Regions from separate parts of the Homo sapiens genome. Here all the other regions are linked to region 1. Evidence: promoter capture Hi-C in 16 types of primary human blood cells and fetal thymus (Javierre and others, 2016). All regions are on one chromosome and are shown on one strand. Each heading gives the region's core, a stretch centred on a gene start or on the middle of the fragment in contact. The rest is flanking DNA. Distances are from core to core; before and after follow the strand shown.

Evidence for each region. Contacts are between HindIII fragments. The CHiCAGO score rates a contact against its expected background, and 5 or more counts as called.
Region 2: a contact is called between a fragment that was not itself captured here and the fragment with the promoter of IBTK in region 1, in 11 of 17 cell types (M1 macrophages, M2 macrophages, M0 macrophages and 8 more). The highest score is 11.6, in M1 macrophages.
Region 3: a fragment that was not itself captured here is called in contact with the fragment with the promoter of IBTK in region 1 in 13 of 17 cell types (total CD4 T cells, monocytes, M1 macrophages and 10 more); the score reaches 17.1 in total CD4 T cells.
Region 4: a fragment that was not itself captured here is called in contact with the fragment with the promoter of IBTK in region 1 in 9 of 17 cell types (M2 macrophages, naive CD8 T cells, activated CD4 T cells and 6 more); the score reaches 16.9 in M2 macrophages.
Region 5: a fragment that was not itself captured here is called in contact with the fragment with the promoter of IBTK in region 1 in 14 of 17 cell types (total CD4 T cells, naive CD8 T cells, M2 macrophages and 11 more); the score reaches 18.6 in total CD4 T cells.
Region 6: a fragment that was not itself captured here is called in contact with the fragment with the promoter of IBTK in region 1 in 13 of 17 cell types (M2 macrophages, total CD4 T cells, activated CD4 T cells and 10 more); the score reaches 19.3 in M2 macrophages.
Region 7: a contact is called between a fragment that was not itself captured here and the fragment with the promoter of IBTK in region 1, in 3 of 17 cell types (naive CD8 T cells, naive CD4 T cells and M0 macrophages). The highest score is 8.5, in naive CD8 T cells.

The regions. Positions count from the first base shown.
Region 1 is chr6:82,246,294-82,248,993 of GRCh38, reverse strand. It overlaps IBTK (inhibitor of Bruton tyrosine kinase), which reads left to right and starts at 1,250. Exons shown (of 29, transcript NM_015525.4): 1 at 1,250-1,432. RefSeq lists a silencer at 1,448-1,617. The HindIII fragment of the contact is 2,262 bases long and covers 94-2,355 here.
Region 2 is chr6:83,151,830-83,154,529 of GRCh38, reverse strand. DOP1A (DOP1 leucine zipper like protein A) reads right to left here. Exons shown (of 39, transcript NM_015018.4): 29 at 2,503-2,647; 30 at 2,163-2,242; 31 at 910-1,019; 32 at 487-636; 33 at 289-350. It also overlaps a transcript of PGM3 not described here. Among named protein-coding and RNA genes, the nearest start is that of PGM3, 40 kb to the left of the region's middle. The HindIII fragment of the contact is 1,606 bases long and covers 547-2,152 here.
Region 3 is chr6:83,176,667-83,179,366 of GRCh38, reverse strand. It overlaps PGM3 (phosphoglucomutase 3), which reads left to right. Exons shown (of 13, transcript NM_015599.3): 8 at 611-694. Among named protein-coding and RNA genes, the nearest start is that of PGM3, 15 kb to the left of the region's middle. The HindIII fragment of the contact is 3,063 bases long and covers 1-2,700 here.
Region 4 is chr6:83,117,494-83,120,193 of GRCh38, reverse strand. It overlaps DOP1A (DOP1 leucine zipper like protein A), which reads right to left. Exons shown (of 39, transcript NM_015018.4): 8 at 1,207-1,306; 9 at 337-446. Among named protein-coding and RNA genes, the nearest start is that of DOP1A, 51 kb to the right of the region's middle. The HindIII fragment of the contact is 4,542 bases long and covers 1-2,700 here.
Region 5 is chr6:83,203,992-83,206,691 of GRCh38, reverse strand. No RefSeq gene overlaps it. Among named protein-coding and RNA genes, the nearest start is that of RWDD2A, 12 kb to the right of the region's middle. The HindIII fragment of the contact is 9,001 bases long and covers 1-2,700 here.
Region 6 is chr6:83,133,713-83,136,412 of GRCh38, reverse strand. DOP1A (DOP1 leucine zipper like protein A) reads right to left here. Exons shown (of 39, transcript NM_015018.4): 19 at 2,126-2,226; 20 at 535-794. Among named protein-coding and RNA genes, the nearest start is that of PGM3, 58 kb to the left of the region's middle. The HindIII fragment of the contact is 8,956 bases long and covers 1-2,700 here.
Region 7 is chr6:83,224,897-83,227,596 of GRCh38, reverse strand. ME1 (malic enzyme 1) reads left to right here. Exons shown (of 14, transcript NM_002395.6): 11 at 120-262. Among named protein-coding and RNA genes, the nearest start is that of RWDD2A, 33 kb to the right of the region's middle. The HindIII fragment of the contact is 4,407 bases long and covers 1-2,700 here.

The sequences.
Region 1 (2,700 bases), core at 1-2,500:
GTCTCGATCTCCTGACCTCGTGATCCGCCCGCCTCGGCCTCCCACATTGCTGGGATTACAGGCGTGAGCCACCGCGCCCGGCCAACTTAAGCTTATTTTCAAAACCACTCAATTTTGACATTACAAACTGGTTTTTGTTTTGTAGAAGGACATTAAGAATAAAGAGCAAAGAAACAATTATGTGCTGGGAAGGGCAGTAGGAGGGCTGGGTCCTAGTCTCCCTTTCTCTTTCGCTAAGCAGCTGTGTGGCTTTGGGCTAGTAACCTACCCTCCCACAAAAAAGGCTTCAAAAGAGAGCAAGCAGAGCTCAGTGGGCATTAAGACATGCGCAACTCCTTTCTTTTAGAGATTAGATGAGGTCGACTCAGTGGCTTGTAAAACTCAACGTGGCAGAGCTGTACAGCCAACTCATGATTCTTAGTGTCGTTTGTTTTGAGTCACACTACACCTCCTTGAACAATCATTTACTGAGTGCTTACCGTATTAGGCATTCAGCAGCAGTGTGTTTCCCATTCAGTAACCTAGTATTGATTATTGGCTACTGTCCCTCCTAGCATTTTTCACTTGACCACTTTCTAAATGGCCTTTAGATTCAGAGTTCAAGTGGAAAAAGCCTAGTGTAAGCCTGGTGTCAGGCAGTGAGTGGCGTGACCCGGGTCGGCAGCTAGTCCTACGGTGGTGATCTAAGAGGGCAGTGACGCCTTCTGACCAAGGGAGTGACTGCCAGATAATCCGGGTGTATGGAGATCCAGAGAGGGGTGAGGCTGGGTTTACGGAGACTACACCTTTGGCTTTGCAGTAACCCCACTGCTAAGGCCATGGGAGGAAACTCTTCTGTGCAGGACGCCTATGCACTTGGCTTCTGCTGCGTAGCGACCGGGTGTCCAAGGCATCCTGCCAGGTCTCCTTCTCCACTCGGGTTTAGCCTCCCCCGCGAGTCTCCAGCTACCTAGAGAGACGTTTCTAACTACGAGATGGCTGGCCTGAAAGGGACACTCCCATCACCGTTGTTGGCCTAGAGTTCCCCGCTGCGGCCTTTTTCTTTTCCCCGCCCCTGGCCTGAGTCAGCGGCCCCAAGGCCGGCGAGGTCAAGTTCCTTTGGGGCGCCAGGGAAAAGGCCATGGCAGAGGTGCTGCCACGCGAAACCTTCTGGGCAGGCACCAGCCAATCATCAAGAGACATACAGGAGCCCCAGCCAACCAGCGCCCGCCTTATTACTGGGAACCGCCCGCTCGGGCCCTTCCTCTACATCCCCGTTCCCGATTCCTGTAGTAGCGGCTGTATTGCAGCCGCCTGCCGAACTGACCCGGGTCTGGGGACTGGCCCCTCTGGCGCCGTTCGGTTTCTCTTATTGCCTTCACTGAGGATGAGTCCCTTTGTGGCTCTATGTGGACCCTGCGGAATCCACCGGCGCAGTTTCATCTAGCGACTGGTGAGGGAGGGCTTGGCGCTGCCCGACCGTGCGGTGCGGCTTCCCTTCAGCCCGGGGGCAGGGGGAGAGTATTCGCCTTCTGGAGGGTGCGGGTGGCTGCGGACGGCGGCGCGGGGGGACCGTGGGGAGGGGACTCTGTGGCCCCGAGGCTGCCGGGCTTCGCGCGAGGCGGCGCGGAGAGGGCCGAGTGGCCAGGGTCCCTACCGCCCCCCTCAGCTAATGAATGGCCTGTCCCGGCGATGCGCTACGCTCCCGTCCTGCTGGACACGCCCTCCAGCGACATTGCATTCCTAGTTGTGATAGTTATGTAGTGTCACTTTCCTTCGAGTCTTGGATTTGAAGCCATTCCTGTGGGCGCTCATGTTCCTTATCCCCTTCCTGGAGTCACAAGTTTGAGTCCACCCTGGGGATACTGACTCTGGGGAAGCAGGTCGTGAAATCTGATAAGTGGACATTGATTGCTATGTAAAAAGGAACTGATTCTTTTTGGAGGGTGGAGGGTTGAGAGAGACAGAGAAGACAGGCCCTTTGTTTTTGTAACAGGCAGAGCTGTCTGGCTCAAAGAGTTTTAGTTCAGCTGCGAATTAGGTAACATAGGCCGTCCTTGACTCCTGTTTTCCAACGTAGTTCATAAAACTTGACTGTGTTAGCCAGAGATTCATGTAGCACCTTTTAACTTATGCCTCGAAGTAGGCCATTTGAAATTTATCAGAAATACTGAAAGGATATGACTTTTATGAGTAGTAGTGTTTCAGTGCCCATAAAGTGGTGTAAATTCACAGGCTTGCCAGCCCCCTCTTGATCATTTCTCTTTTTGTATTTTGAATTCCTTAACTTTTATTTGTTTTAGAAATTGAGGCAAGGTAGATGAGGACAAAACTGGTTTCTAAAAATAATTACATTTGCAAATATTTGCAGAAGCTTTAGTCAAACCAGAGTTTACTTCAAGAAATTTTTTAGGCCGGGCGCGGTGGCTCACGCCTGTAATCCCAGCTACTGGGGAGGCTGAGAATTGCTTGAACCCGGGAGGTGGAGGTTGCAGTGAGCCGAGATCGCGCCGCTGCACTCCATCCTGGGCGACTGAGTGTGGCACCATCTCAAAAAAAAAAAAAAAAAAAAAGATGCCTGTAATCCCAGCAGTCTGGGAGGCCAAGGTGGGCGGATCACTTGAGGTCAGGAGTTCGAGGCCAACTTGGTGAAACCCCGTCTCTACCAAAAATACAAAAAAATCAGCCAGGCATGGTGATGTGTGCCTGTAATCCCAGCTA
Region 2 (2,700 bases), core at 100-2,599, 910 kb before region 1:
AAATAATTTAGATTCAAATTAGACATGGACCCTTCCCTCCACTAGTTGCTGCAAAAGGACAAATAGTTTTACTTATTACTTATCACTTAAGTTGTCCTCTGTAAATTTTAAGATTATATTCCCATAGCGTACAGAAAGTAGTGTGCTTTCCCTAGAGCACATATCCCCACTGACACTTGACAAAGAGCTAATTCAGTAGTCTCCTAGTCTCCAGAAAAGAGTACAAGTAAATAGTAAGAAGGAACCATGTACAGGAAAGAACTTGGATTGTCATCCCGTAATACTCACTCATCAAATCTCTAAATGTTGTTTTATCATGTGTCATCAGATTGTCCATAATTGCTCTCCAACTGAAAGAGATAAGGATTACAACATGTAATTATGTTGTTACTGTTAAAGAACAGTATTCTAACTTTCCAGGGGAGTAGCTGATTTCATCAGACTGTGAGGTGCATCATGCTGAATACAAATAAGAGGGCAACTTACTGATTAACACAAGAGGCATCCATCTGAAAGAAACTGGGATCCATAAAGAGGTCAAAAGCTTCTTTTTTCCAAGCTCTCCGTGTGTACTGATACCCACTAAGACTGCTGAGCAGCTGGACACAAGCTCGATAACTAGGGGCATTATGTGCACTACAAGGAAGAAAAACCACCTTAACCTACGTGTCCTAACTTTAATCATCCTATCAAGTTATACATAAATGTTCACATTTACCTAAGACAGTGACATGAAGATATGAAATAGAAAGCACCATAAGAAAAATAATATATGAATTTTTTTAAACAATTATAATTCAAGGTAAAAATGCCATTTTATGATAATTCTAGAAATGGCAATAAGGGAACAGAACTTGTTTCTAACAGGCTATGAATTAATTTTAAAAACTATTTAAATAATGATAGTACCTGTGATTTCTGAGGTAGGGCACAACATAATGCATAATATTTACAAGTAAAGGAATAACCCGCTCCTTTTCATCACTATAGAAAACCATATCCAAAAGATGAGCCAAAACCTATGAAAACATAAAAAATGAAGAGTAACATATGAGGTGAAACTGACATCATCCCAAGGTACTGATTTTCAGTTTGTTAGAAAACCTAGACTACTTAAAATTAGAAAAATCTAAAATTAAATCTTCCTGAATCATTTTTATGTTAATGAGTTTTGCCACCATCTGCTTTTTTGTACATTGTTACTATAGGATATAAATATGGGCAAATCTTGCCATTTCCAACTGAGATAGGGAAGTACAAAAAAGAAAAGAGTTCAAGAACCTTCTGTGACAGTGAGTAAACAGTGAATTTAGTACTAGAAACTATAGTATTCTTTTTCCCTGACTCAGCTAAAATGTAGTTTAGGAAAAAAAAACAAACAATTGAACTGGGCTGTTCAAATTCCAACACTGTCAATTAACAGCTATTTGGCCTTAGTCCTATTGTTCTGATCTTTGTAAAGGTCACTATCCACATCTGCAAAGAGGAAACAAAATGACATGTGTATAATAGGGTATAAAAAAGAACCTGTCAGACAATGTACATGAAAATGTTTGGTAAATTGTAAAATACATTATAGTGGCAGGCTTTAGATCACCTCCACCCCTCCCCAGGCCGGGCGCGGTGGCTCATGCCTGTAACCTCAGCACTTTGGGAAGCCGAGGTGGGCGGATTACCTGAGGTCAGGAGTTCGAGACCAGCCTGGCCAAACTGATGAAACCCCGTCTCTACTAAAAATACAAAAATTAGCTGGGCATTGTGGCACACACCCGTAGTCTCAACTACTTAGGAGGCTGAGGGAGGAGAATAGCTTGAGCCCGGGAGGCAGAGGTTGCAGTGAGCTGAGATCACCCCACTTGACTCCAGCCTGGGCAACAAGAGTGAAACTGTCTCAAAAAAAAAAAAAAAAGAAAAAGAAAAAAACACATAAAAAAGAATAGGACATGGAGAAGGGAAGCAGTATCTAAATTTATCACTAATGTTTGGCAAACTAAATAATCCAAATACATACAAGGCCAAAACTTTATATTAATTCTATATAGTGATTTCTAGAAGCACAAAATAGTTTCTCAAATTAGAAATTCCTCTATAAAAATTACTTGCTAATTTTTAATAATGAAACAGTCTACTTGAGAGTTCATGTGAAAAAGCTTAATATTTACCTCAGAGAGTAATGTCAATGCATGGACACTATATACAGAAGGAGTTATGTTTGCGGTTTCCATTGCAGGTGATAACATATCTATAAATAAGAGAAAATTAAAGATATGGCTAATTCCCACTGAAAATAAATTTTATGTGTGTGTGTGTGTGTGTGTATTATTTTTATATATGTATATATATATGTATATGTATATATATATTTTTCCCACTGAAAAAAAGTTACTTGTTAGACATGAGAAAAGGGATAAATTTGTGGTACTTATAGTGCTAGGCAAAATGATTTCTTAGTAAATATATGCCTGCTTACAGATAATAAACCTAAATGTTTGACAAGAATACCTTCAACATCAGATTCCAAATTGGTTCCATCTACCATTATTTTGGGAGAAGGCTTAACTTCAAGATTTCGTCGCAGCCATGTTGTCTGTTCCAGAGAAGAACCAGCAATTGCACCAATTGCATCCACTATTTTGTGAGTTACATCCTAAAAAAATAAGGAAGAACAACTATGTATGGTACACACATGCACACTAGTTA
Region 3 (2,700 bases), core at 198-2,697, 930 kb before region 1:
ATAATCTGGAAACAGCATACTTTAAGAATTTAATAGATTTTTTTTTTTTTTTTTTTTGAGACAGTGTTGCTCTGTTGCCCAGGCTGGAGTGCAGGGGCGTGATCTCGGCTCATTGCAACCTCTGCCTCCCTGGGCTCAAGCAATTCTTCTGCCTCAGCCTCCCAAGTAGCTGGGATTACAGATGCATGCCACCACACCTGGCTAATTTTTGTACTTTTAGTAGAGATGGGGTTTCACCATGTTGGCCAGGCTGGTCTCGAACTTTTGACCTCAGGTGATCCACCCACCTTGGCCTCCCAGAGTGCTGGGATTACAGGCGTGAGCCACCGTGCCTGGCCAGATACTTTTATTTAAAAAATTAAAGAGGTGAAGATCAGGAGATACAGGCTTCTTAAAAGAGGAATTCTCATAGAATTGTTTTAAATAGTGTTCAAATGTATTTTAGGCTTTTTTCCTGGCATACATGTAAATTTTCAGTCAGACATTTTTGGCATAAACTAAGGCACAACTGAACTGGCTGATAATTTTGGTAGCCTTTAGAACTCTCATTATATTTGTTTTTGTAGACCATACTTTTGATGGCAAGTTAAGTATCATTGTTTTTGTCTAGATTGGAGAAAGTTTGAATATTGGTGTTGTACAAACTGCATATGCAAATGGAAGTTCAACACGGTATCTTGAAGAAGTTATGAAGGTATTGAACCATTTTTGTTTTCTGGTAGTTTCTTAATTAAGATCATGTTTCTGTGAGAAAGATACTGCCCTCATAAAAGTGATTATGTTGTAGTGCATGAAGCTGAGCTGCTGTTCATGTAAAGGTAAAGAGAAATAAATAAGAAAAAATTTAGTTGTCCTTGATGAATAAAGGAAAACTTCTTTCCTTCCTTTTCTTGGAGTTTTCCTTTAGAAAACTTGGAATTCTTTCTCTGTGCCTTTGTAATGAATGTAAGTCTTTCTAAAGGCCTAATAAGCCAGTTTTATAGCTCAGGAATACTTTTCTTTAAGGGCCTAGAGTCACCAATTTCAAATATAAACATCAAGGAAGATAGCTCACCTATCTCCCAGTCTCAGGAGAGTTTAACTTAGGTGTTTGCGTCCAATTTGTAACTATCTACCTGTCACAGAGGTATGAAAAGTTTTATTACTCCTTTAGAGAAGGGCAGTTAACACAGGTGGCCATCCCTATTACCAAGTAAGTTTAGGATAAACTATGTGTGTGACAAATGGTGGTTTCAAGTTTTCCTATTTGAGGACTAGTGTTAAAGAAAAAATAATTCATGACACTTGTTAAAATGGTAAGGCAGACTTGATTCAGGACTGTTGTGATAGGTACAGGGACTAATGTGATGGAGTTTTGCAGTGGTAGGAGAAAGATTGGGCTCAACTCCAAATATAGTAAGGAAAAGTAGGGCTTTATAGCCAAGGAGCAGGGTGTGTGGGGGGTGGTCAGTGGATGAAAAATTACTGAGAGGAAACATGAGGGTAAGTGGGTGGTATTTTGGCTAAACTGATCTAACAGGACTTTTGCTGAAGGTAGGCCAGGGCGGTCACATATTACCTGGGGGATGGTAGAGAATGAGAACTCAGATCAGATGTCAAGAGTGGTCATGTATCAGGATGAGGGATTCTCGCTAAGCTCACTTAGCATGACTCTTATTAAAATCGGGCTATTGGAAGACATGCCTAAGGACAAGGCCTAGTCAGGCCCACCTAAACCTAACTAAAGTTTGGTCAAGGAGAGAATTTTTGTCATTAGCCATCTTTTATCTTAGCAAATTGTATTGGAATGTGTCCGCTTGGCTATATTAAAGGGTGAGCGTTTATCTTTGCTATCTCTTAGCAAATTAGCCTGTGATTGAACATCAGTTTGGCTTAATACTTATTCAGTAATAAAACTGTTTCTTACCCTTCTTTTTTTTTTGGAGAGGTTTTCTGGGGTGGTGGGAGATTCTGTTTCTAATTATTTCCCCGGTGTCCACCAGGTGACCACCCTTGGCACCACACTACTTGCTCGGAGAGTTACCAGGGTTCATGGACAAAACTGGAAGTCTGTTTGCCTATACTTTCTCATTATCGAGAAGTTTTCCAACTTTTTTGTACCTCATTTTGTACCTCGTTCTGGCATTTATACTAGTTTTAGTTACCTTTCCATTCTCTAGAAAGCAGGAATTACAAAGTCAGATTCCTGCAGGATTTGGACAGGTAAAGTGAATGAGGGCAGCAGGGGGCTAAAAACAGGTCAGTATGTGCCAGCTGATGTCAACTGTAGTCACACTCTTCAAGAGAAGCAGGAAATCTGAATTTTCATGTGATGTTCCTATTTGTTTAAAAAGAAACAGTGGCTGGGCAAAACGAAATATATCTTGAGGCTGCTAGTTTATGACCTGATTTTAATATATGGTTATAATAAGCTCATTCAAGGGATTCCATCTGGGGCCCATTTGCCTGCCTTTCACAGGGATTGGGTTATTTCACAGTACTTGGGTTATTGTTTTAGGATTTTCATTTTCTGTCTTAAAAATTTATTACAGATAAAATAACCTAGTTTAAGAAACTGTTACTTCTCAACTCACTGTCTTCCAGATGAAATATTTTTAGCCCTTGCCATTCCTGAGGTCTCCTACATCCAATCTAATGCTGATCTTTCTTTTGCAGTTTTTCTACTATCAATCTTTCCTTAACCATTCTTAAAGCTCTCTC
Region 4 (2,700 bases), core at 183-2,682, 870 kb before region 1:
TCTCCAGAGCTTCACAGGAAATAGCACAGGTCCTGACTCATTTTTGGAAAAGCTCCAACTTCCATTGAGCAGACAGGTGAGAAGCTACAACTATGTTTTAATAAAGTAATGAAAACAACAAAGTAAGAGAAAAAAAGTCTTTTGTCTTACATGGTAGTCTAACATATGATTATCATTTTACAGGAATTTTCTTGTTATAAAAATTCTTGGGAAGTTTGTAAGTCTTGTCTCCACCCCTTCAACTGTGAATTCAATTAAGGCAAGACCTCGTCTTACACTTTTTCACTACCTCTAGTGGTCAGTAAGTAACCAAAGAATAATAAAAGTATTCATTACCTGGACTAATAATTCTTTTGAAAAGGTAGTGAAATAGTAAGTGGCATGTTCTTCAGGATTACTGTGTCTTGTGCTTCTGGGTCCTATGATAGCACCGTTGTTATCAAAACCTCCATGGAAACAAATCACAAAATTACTTAAAATGGAATTCTCAAAACTGTTGTTCACTAAATACCAAAACAGCAAAATCTCAGAACAGCACTAAACACTTACCAATTAGTAGCCCATTCAATGTCAGCAAGAGAGATCATTTTAGATAGTTTAATAAAGGGAAACCAATTCAATACATAAGTATCATAGTATTCTTCCAGAATTATCCTTTTTATTTTTTGGCCAATTTTACTAACAGTGAAATAACTGAATACTCAGAACATCCACAATAAGTTATATTATGTCCCCTCACTCTAGGCAGTAAAGAGTTGTGAAGACAGACAAAACACACAAAAAGCATGGACGACCAAAGTGTACATATGTATTACTGCCTGAGTGGGACACTGTATGATGTGTAAGACAATGGTACTAGTCCTGATTCCTTTGATGAATTCAAAGTTTTGGACAGTATTTTGATTATTAGCTCATCCTTCTTTGCCTACTAACTTATATACAACCATCTCAATTTGTAAGGGGAAAAACATCTTGTTAAGGACAAGGGAACATGACTTTATGAATTCAAATAGACTCTTCAAATATAAAGCTGCTGAAATTTCTTCATACAATACACAACTAATACTGTTTATATTTTTATTGTCCATTTACACAAGAGATTTTAGTTTTTAAATTCAGGACATACATACAACTTGGTAATACTTATACATGACAAATCTCCCTCCATTTTTTCCCCAATCATGACCACAGACATCAAATACCTACCAAGAAGCCATGCATAAAGTCTTCGATTCAGAGACATATCCCTCCTTAGCACTACATGAAGGGCTGCTGACAAGATCCTGATCATATCCGGTCGAGTGGCCTGAAAGAGTTAGGAATATGGTTGTACTTAGCAATATACAATATATATTATTTTTTTCCTCTTTAAAAAATGCCCTGAAATATGCTTAGAATATTAGGGTGTATGGAGTACTTTCATGGATTATTTCAAACACAGGATATTACTTCCATTTTACAGATTAGGAAACAGGAAGAAAGTTAGGTAACATGGCTATTTAGCTGCATAACTGAAACTATAACTTAATTATTTTAACTTACAGTTTAAAGTTCTTTGTCTATATAATAAAAGCAAATTCTGACATAAAACAAATAAAATGAAGCAAGATGGGACAGACACAAGAAAATGATATGCCATTAGTCTTTCACATTTATAACGTTGTCAACTGACTATAAACTCCTGAGAAGGTTACTATCTTCATCCACTCTTTATTCTTTTTAAAAATTTTTATCTTGTAGTATTTTAAACATATCAAAAAATACAGAAAACAAAATAATAAACCGTTTTCTACCAATCATCCAGCTTTAACAATCTTAATTTTTCTCTCATTTTGTTCCATTTCTTTTTAAGAGAAATAATTTTTTTCTTTTTTCCCAATATCCTTAATTCAACGTTTAAAAAAATGATTAAAGGAGATCTGGGTTTTAGCTAAAAGAGGTAAATTTATAAAAATCAAAATAGAAGAAAAGCAACTAACTTGCTATTAATTTTAAGAATACTGCCAGATAATCACTTTACAATATAATCTTGGAATCTGAGAATTAGATGATAATGTGGAAACTGACTAGTTTAACAACCACTCTATAAGTAAAGAATCTAAACCTCACAGGTTCTTGAGGTTTTGGCTAAGTGCTTAGCCAAATTCAAATGCCTGGTTAGTGCCCCAGCTAGATGGAGAACTCACTTCTCCTTAATCACAGACCAGTGAACTTTGTCCTATATCATGCTTCTTGATAGAATTAGAAAGGATTTACCCAGCTCATTTGTGTTAAAGGAACCTTAGAGAAATAACTGAGATGATACAGAACACAGATCACCAACAATTGACGAATTAGGTTCACTCCTTTGAACACAAATGCCTTCTATTGATCTGTACAATTCTGAAAGTATGGTTCAAGACCCCTAGGTATCTCTAAGACTTTTTCAGGGGGTGCACAAAGTAAAAACCAGCTATTCATATTCATAACAAATAAAACTATGCATATTCATAACAATACAAAGATGTTATTGGGCTTTTTGTTTTGTTGACATATGCCCTGATCATGCAATAGTGGATAAAACTGCTGGCACCTTAGCATGAAAAGAGGCAGCATAGCAGCTGCACCTACTATACTTGTAATCATTATATTTTCACAGCCATGTACTTGCAGTAAAATCAAAAAATAAGTATCAACCTTTGAGTGCATGTCTTTTAATAT
Region 5 (2,700 bases), core at 166-2,665, 960 kb before region 1:
TAGAGGGCTCTTATTATTTTGAGGTATGTTCCTTTAATATCTAGTTTACTGAGAGTTTTTAATATGAAGGTATGTTGAGTTATATTGAAAGCCTTTTCTGCACCTGTTGAGATAATCCTATGGTTTTTGTCTAACATAAACAGAAAATTTCCAAATGGAAGCATAAAGAGAGAGCAAGAAAGGAAAAGAGAGAGAGAGATGTTGGCTAAAATGAGGTGGTCTAATATACGTGCTACTGGGTCCTGTAAGGAAAGAAGAGATACTGGAGTACAAATATTTGAAGAGATAATGGAAAGAAATTTTCTCAAATTAATGAAAAGCATCAACTGATAGAGCTAGCAAGCCCCAAGTAGGATCAATACAAAGGACACCATACCTAGGGATATCATAATCAAATTGCATATCAAAAATAAACAGAAAAATCTTAAAAGCAGCCAAATGAAATAGGTATACAATGCCTTCAGAAGTACAATAAGAATGACAGCCAACATCTCGGCAGAAAAATGAGATAATAGACATTTTTAATGTGCCAAAAGAATAAAATTTAGCATTCTTTTTTTTTTTTTTCCAGACGGAGTCTCGCTTTGTCGCCCAGGCTGGAGTGCAGTGGCGCGATCTCAGCTCACTGCAACCTCCACCTCCTGGGTTCAAGCAATTCTCCTGCCTCAGCCTCCCAAGTAGTGGGACTACAGGCACCCACCACCATGCCTGGCTAATTTGGTTTTTTTTTTTGTATTTTTAGTAGAGACAGGTTTTCACCGTGTTAGCCAGGATGGTCTCAATCTCCTGACCTAGTGATCCACCCACCTCGGCCTCCCAAAATGCTGGGATTACAGGCGTGAGCCACCGCGCCCAGTCTAAAACTTAGCATTCTATACCTAGAGAAAATATCCTTCAGAAATTAAGGCAAATAGAGACATTTCAGACTAATGAAATCTGAGCTAATTCATGGCCTGCAGACCTACACTGCTAGAAGTACTAAAGGAAGTTCTTCAGTCTGAGGGAAAATGATCCTAGATGGAAACGTGCATCTGTGGGAAAAAATGAAAAGCACCAGAAAGAGTTGGGCCCGGTGACTCATGCCTGAATCCTAGCACTTTGGGAGGCCAAGGTGGGCTGATCATGAGGTCAGGAGATTGAGACCATCCTGGCTAACACGGTGAAACCCCCGTCTCTACTAAAAATACCAAAAAAGAAAAAAAAAAATTAGCCGGGCATGGTGGCAGGTACCTATCCTCCGAGCTACTTGGGAGGCTGAGGCAGAAGAATTGCTTGAACCTGGGAGGCGGAGGTTGCAGTGAGCCGAGATTGCACCACTGCACTCCAGCCCGGGCAACAGAGCAAAACTCTGTCTCAAAAAAAAAAAAAAGAAAGAAAGAAAGAAAAGAAAAGCACCAGAAAAGGTGGATGTGTGAGAATATAAAATACTGTTTTAAAATTCATATAAGACTATTGACTAATACAAATAACAATGTATGTGGGGTTTATAAAATATGTAGAAGTAAAATGTATGGCTAGAGTAGGACAAGGGGTGGAAGGGGGATTAATAATGGAAGTATACTACTGTATGTTTTATACATTATTCATGAAATGGTACATCCATTATAAAAGGAATACTGTAGCAAGTAATATACCACTTCATGACCAATCTAGGAACCTAACAATTTAAAATGTATTGCAAGAATTCAAGGAATATAGTAATAAATTAAGGAAGAATATTATAACCTCTAAAACACTAAAAATAATACAAAAAACATACAGTTTAAAAGCTAATAGGCCAGACGCTGTGGCTCACACTTGTGATCCCAACACATTGGGAGGCCGAGGTGGGTGGATCACCTGAGGTCAGGAGTTTGAGGCCAGCCCAACATGGTGAAACCCCATCTCTACTAAAAATACAAAATTATCCAGGTGTGGTGGCAGGTGCCTGTAATCCCAACTACTTGGGAGGCTGAGACAGGCGAATTGTTTGAACCCAGGAGGTGGTGGTTGCAGCGAGCCGAAATTGTACTATTGCACTGCAGCCTGGGCAACAAGAGTGAAACTCTGTCTCAAAAAAAAAAAAAAAAAAAAAAAAAAAGCTAATGGAAGAAATAGAATAACTCTGAAATACTTGATTAATGCAAAAGAAAGATAAAGGAGGAACAAAGAACGTAAGAGCTTAACTCCTGGGATAAATATAAAACTAATAGCAAGATGGTAGACATAAACCCAACTTTGCTGGTAATTATGTTAAATGTAAGTGAACTAAACACTCTAATAGCAAAAATTGTCAGATTGGATTTTTTTAAAGCTCCAATTATATGCTGTTTATATATATTTTTATTGTTATTATAGAGATGAAATTTCACTATATTGCCCAAGCTGGTCTCAAGTTCCTGAGGGCAAGTGATCCTCCTGCCTCAGCCTCCCAAACTGCTGGGATTATAGGCATGAGGCACCATTCCCAGCCTACAATTATATGCTGTTTATAAGAGACATACTTTAAATATAATGACACAAAAAGTTTGACAGTAAAAGGATGGCAAAAGATATCTCATACAAAGAGTAAGCCCAAGAAAGCTGCTGTAGCTCTATTAATATAAGAGAAGCACACTTCAAGGCAAGGCATATTAGTAGAGATAGTGATAAATGGGTCAGTCATTAAAAGACACAATTCTTTCTATGTTTTTAATAAAACAGCTTCAAAATATATGGAAA
Region 6 (2,700 bases), core at 191-2,690, 890 kb before region 1:
ATCACTGTATAGAAGGCATCACTCAACTATAAAGTATGGACTTTGTAGTAATATAGTAATAGTGAATATTTAGGCATGTCACAAACATGACTACATCTGATGGTCATAATAAAACCTTGAAAGTTGAGCATTATTCTTCTCTTAAAAGATGAGGAAAATGACTCATGAAATACAAAATGTGCATTACAGATTTACTATAAATTCCCAATGAAGTATCTACAGAGCCTGTAGGACCAGAATTGCTAACTAAGCTCTAAAGATATTTCCATCAAAATTGAAGAATGTCTCTAATCAGAGCTGTGCCTGATTCCTGCCCTGAAAGAGTCAACTGAGAGACCCACATCCTCTAAGATGGTCATTGACAAAGTACATTCTGACATGGTCCACACAGCATTGCTAGTGCATGAGGAGGGGAGAAAATAAGCCCATGGAGAAAATCTCACATGCAGTTCTTTCAACAATTACTGTTGTATTCATGTATCACTTTATTTTAATAATTCTAAATAAAGCTGTCTACTTCTATGTGTTATTCACCATTGCTGCAGGCAAAATTTTGCATGAAATGCTTGTCACTCTCCTCTCCTGGATAACAGGGAGACTTATTCCAATAACGTTCTGCTTGTACACGCTGTACTGAAACCCTCTGAGTTTTTGGATGAAGCAGGAGCAATAGCAATGGTTCCAAAACTCGTGCAATATCATGTCTTTGTAGGACTTGGTTCAGCCAGGCTTGTCCCACAGAGCTAGTAGAACCATCGAGACTGTTAAGGCTATCTAACATGATGAACAGTGACCTAAAATAAACACAAATAATTAAAATAAAGAACCAAACATCTACCTTGTCACACTCTTTTATAAAATTAATAAATTCTGTTTCTTATTTTGAATTAACTATTTTGAAGTAGTCATACTTCAGGATAAATTTTGATCATAGTATTTTAATAATCTTAATCCCAATAGTCTCGGTGGGTATAAGAAAGGAAAAAAACCTTTTGCCCTTTTAAAAATATACTCATGCTTTGAAATTTCACAGGCATACATTACTAAGATTAATACTGAAGAACTGAAAAAAAATATGATTAGTCTTGTTTTAGCAACATTTTCCTGTTCATATTATCAAGCACTGAGCCTTCGGCAAGTCGGCATTACTCCATGTTGGTCCATGTTCCTCTGCTCACACTCTCCTTGTGAGCCAAAGCTCTGTGCTTAATTCAAGGAAAGATCTGTGGAAGGTATGAAAGTGTGGTTTGGAATCAGAAAAACCCAAGATTCAAATATTTTGTGTGGTGTTGGGCAAGTAACAACTTTTCCTGACCTCTATTCCCTCACTTGTAAAATTAGGAAAGATGGTTGTCAAATAAGAGATGATTATTTATAAAGTAAAGGTTCAATATATTCAGTACATTGTAGGGGTTCAATATATGGTTCAGTATCAGATGACTTAAAATGCTAATGCTGGTTGAAAAGCACCAGCTGAAATAACGTTCAGTAGAGGACACATCTGATCCTGAGCTGACCTTGAACATAGATTCATGGCCACCAGTATGAGACCAACTGGTGAGACTACCTTATGACAATATATGAATCCACCTAAAAATGGCAGCTCCTTGGAATTTAATGCAGATCTGATATTTGAAGTCACCTACGTAGTCCAGACAAAAACCAAAACCACTCTCAGGCAGCTACAAGTTCTCTGGATTCATGGAAAGAATCTGTTAGTGTTTTCAGCTATAGATTTTAATAAATCTAGTTTAGGCAGAAGATTGAAAATAATTGCTTGAGAAACACATAATCTACTATCTATATGCAGTTTCACTAAATGTGAATATAGTCTCAAGAGAGCTGTATCCATTGCTCTATCACTAACATTATCAGGAACGTGATGAATAGTTGTCCAAGGAAGGGAAGTGGAGCCGGGTACTCCAAAACCAGAAAGTAAAAACCTGGTGGATGAGTAAAAATGCCATGCATTTTAATACAGCTTACGGTTTTCAAAATAATAAATTCTCTTTATAAAATTTGTAAATTGCTATCTCCTACACTTGCCAAGCTAGACAGTGGACTCAAGGAAAGAGGCAACATTAAGATATATGACTGTGAAATCTTAATATAAAATGTAACTGACCTGTCAAAAGAACGTACAAAAGATGAAGATTTATTTATATGGAGATCTCTCGTTAGATGCCAAAGAACTGCAAACTTGGCATGTGCTTCCATCCTTATTTTCTGAGGAGAAACATGGGAGCTTAAATTATGTTCTTCTCTCTTGAAGATACTATGATTTTAGTAAAATCAGAGTACTATTTAGGAGTACTGTATTACGTTCAACGTCCACAATATTCAAACACACATTGCAATAAACTTTATTTATATTCTTTATGGCAGTAGAAACACAGAAAATATGTAAATATATACAGAAATATTGAACTTAAAAGGATCATCTCATCCTGTCTCATAAATAATTATTCCTGAGTTCAGACTTTAAGTAATTAGTTTACTATATTATTGTATAACAGGAGAAAAAAGTTACTAATGTACATATATCTGGAGTCCAGAAAGCACTTCCTCCTTCATTTTAATATAAACATTTAGTTATCAAAATTGATTTCATTGCACTATATATTTTTTGTCCCAGAAATGATACATTAATCCCAAATGAGTTTTTCATCACTTATAAAGCTGGTTTGACTCAAAAATTTA
Region 7 (2,700 bases), core at 65-2,564, 980 kb before region 1:
CATTTTGTTTAGGGTCTATTAGAAAATGAGCTGATAGATATCATTGATTTGAGGCATGGTCTTCTTGTGTGAATTAACCAATGATAGTGTTAATTACCAGCTTCATATTTCTTCATTAGGAGTTGCTGCAATTGGTGGTGCATTCTCAGAACAAATTCTCAAAGATATGGCTGCCTTCAATGAACGGCCTATTATTTTTGCTTTGAGTAATCCAACTAGCAAAGCAGAATGTTCTGCAGAGCAGTGCTACAAAATAACCAAGGTAAAGTAAAACTATAACAGATATTTTAATAATCAAATTTTTATTCATTATAGGGAGGCCTAGGATATCTAAGGTGCTTACTGTTTAAGTTTAAAAATTATACAACCAAAATGGAAAGAAAAGCACACAAATCAGAGGGATAAGAACTATTTCCTTTTCTAGAATGTTGTATAAATCCTCTTCTTCAACAAAATAAAATACATATTTTAATGTTTTACTGATAATTTTCCACAAGTGATTTGGAAATAGATATCTAAGATTTAAACATAAAAGTTAAATAGAAAGGAAGCAGCTTGGTTCTAGAGGCTTATTAAAATAGCTTTTAACTAGCTATTCCCAAACACTGAAGCATACAATGTAAAACCACAACCTTATTTTTGCTTTGCTAAATCCTGGGTTTGGGTTTTGGTACTATGGGTGGAACATTTGGGCAACTATCTTGACATCCAGCCAGACTGGGATAGGAGTCCTCAATGCTTCAACATTTTACTATGATTTATTTTATACCATGTTTGTACTAATATGTATTTGGCTGATATGCTGAAAGGAGCCTTTTTTCCCTTCAAAGACTTTAAAATATCATTACAACAAAATAGAGGTTGAGTCATATCTATCTAAAATGTTTATTTTGGAAAGAAATCCAAAATGAACTAGAGAGGTAAACATGAACGCTATGTCACTCTGCATTAACTGGAACTTAATGGCTCTATTTTAATCATATATCCTTAAATGCTCAATACTAGAATTAGTGATTTTTCTTTTTGGCAAGGAGCCACTCCATTGTTTATCTCTCTTATTTGGGATGGCATCAGTGTTCTCACTGATTTTAATTTTTATCTCATCTCTAGATTGGGGAATTTGCCTCACATTATTCAGTAGTCCTTAAATCCTTAAAGGAAAAAAAAGTCCTTTCAGCAACAACCAAGTCTTAGCATCATGCCTTGCACCTACTAGGCATATAATAAACAAGTGTTTAATTAATTATTTTGTCTTAATATATCTCAACAGGCCTCAAGGGTTAAGAGACTTATCTATAACACACATAAACAAAATTAGCCAAATTTATGTAGTTGTATTTTAAACTTTGAATGTGTCTGATATAAATGTATGCCTCAACTCTTTCTTATCATCTTGCCTAATGTTCTATGTTTTTCTACATAAAACATTGAAAGTTATTTTGAGGATGAAAATTTAGACACTGGTTTGGCTAAAGGATTGGAGAAAAAGGAAAGGTCTGCCTGTTGCTGGATGTGAGTTTCTGCTACTGTAGGCACAGGTGAAGATAGGAAAGGTTAAGTTACAATATACAGAAAGACTATTGAACCATAAAAATATAATCTAAAAATGGTATGGGAAGGTTCCCTTCACCATGTTAATAACATATATATATGAGAATATTTAGCTAGCTACAGTACTGTCATTTATTTAATGACATTTCTCCTTAAAATATGGTGATTATAGAAAGGCAGGAAGAGTGGGAGTGCAGGAGTGGGGGAGATATATATATATATATATATATATATATAATGTTACAGGCCTCTTTCTCAAATATAATTTTCCAAAACCTTTATATATGAAGTAATAATTTAGTTACATTAGAAAGTTGTTTATAACAAAATGTTTTATCTGCTAAAGAGCTTAAGGTATCAGACTTGTCTGAAAACAAAACCGAATTCTGTGCAAAACATAACAGTGTCTTATAAACAGCTAGATGAGAATTTGTTTTTCTGCCTCATCTATTTTCATCTTTTTGTCTCTCAAAGAAGGTTGAATTTCTGTTATACAACTTTAAGAACAACTAAAAGGTATATTATGACATTTGCTAAAAATAGGTTAATATTAATATCATTATTTAGACTCTAGATCCAAGAGATATGAAAGTTAAAACCCATTCTGTCATCGTTTAAACTATGCCTTGGGGATTTGATGCTTTAGACTTTTCAAATAGATTTCTTAGACTGTGATGCTTTATTTGTTTAGGGTTTCTGATTCCTACTTTGAAGCCTAAATACTCTCAACTAGATGTCCACTCTCACCATCACAGACAAATGTTCTTTTGATTAGCAATATGAAATGCAGCACCTAACAGGCCCTAGTTAATGCCTTTTTTTTTTTTTTTTTTTTTTTTTGAGATGGAGTCTCGCTCTGTCACCCAGGCTGGAGTGCAATGAATGGCACGATCTCGGCTCACTGCAACCTCCGCCTCCCAGTTTCAAGCAGTTCTCCTGCCTCAGCTTCCTGAGTAGCTGGGATTACAGGTGCCCACCACCACACCCAGCTAATTTTTGTATTTTTAGTAGAGATGGGCTTTCACCATGTTGGCCAGGCTGGTCTCCAACTCCTGACCTCAAGTCATCCACCCTCCTCGACCTCCCAAAGTGCTGGGATTACAGGCGTGAGCCACCGCGCCCAGCCAAGTTCATGCCTTTTTAAAGCAA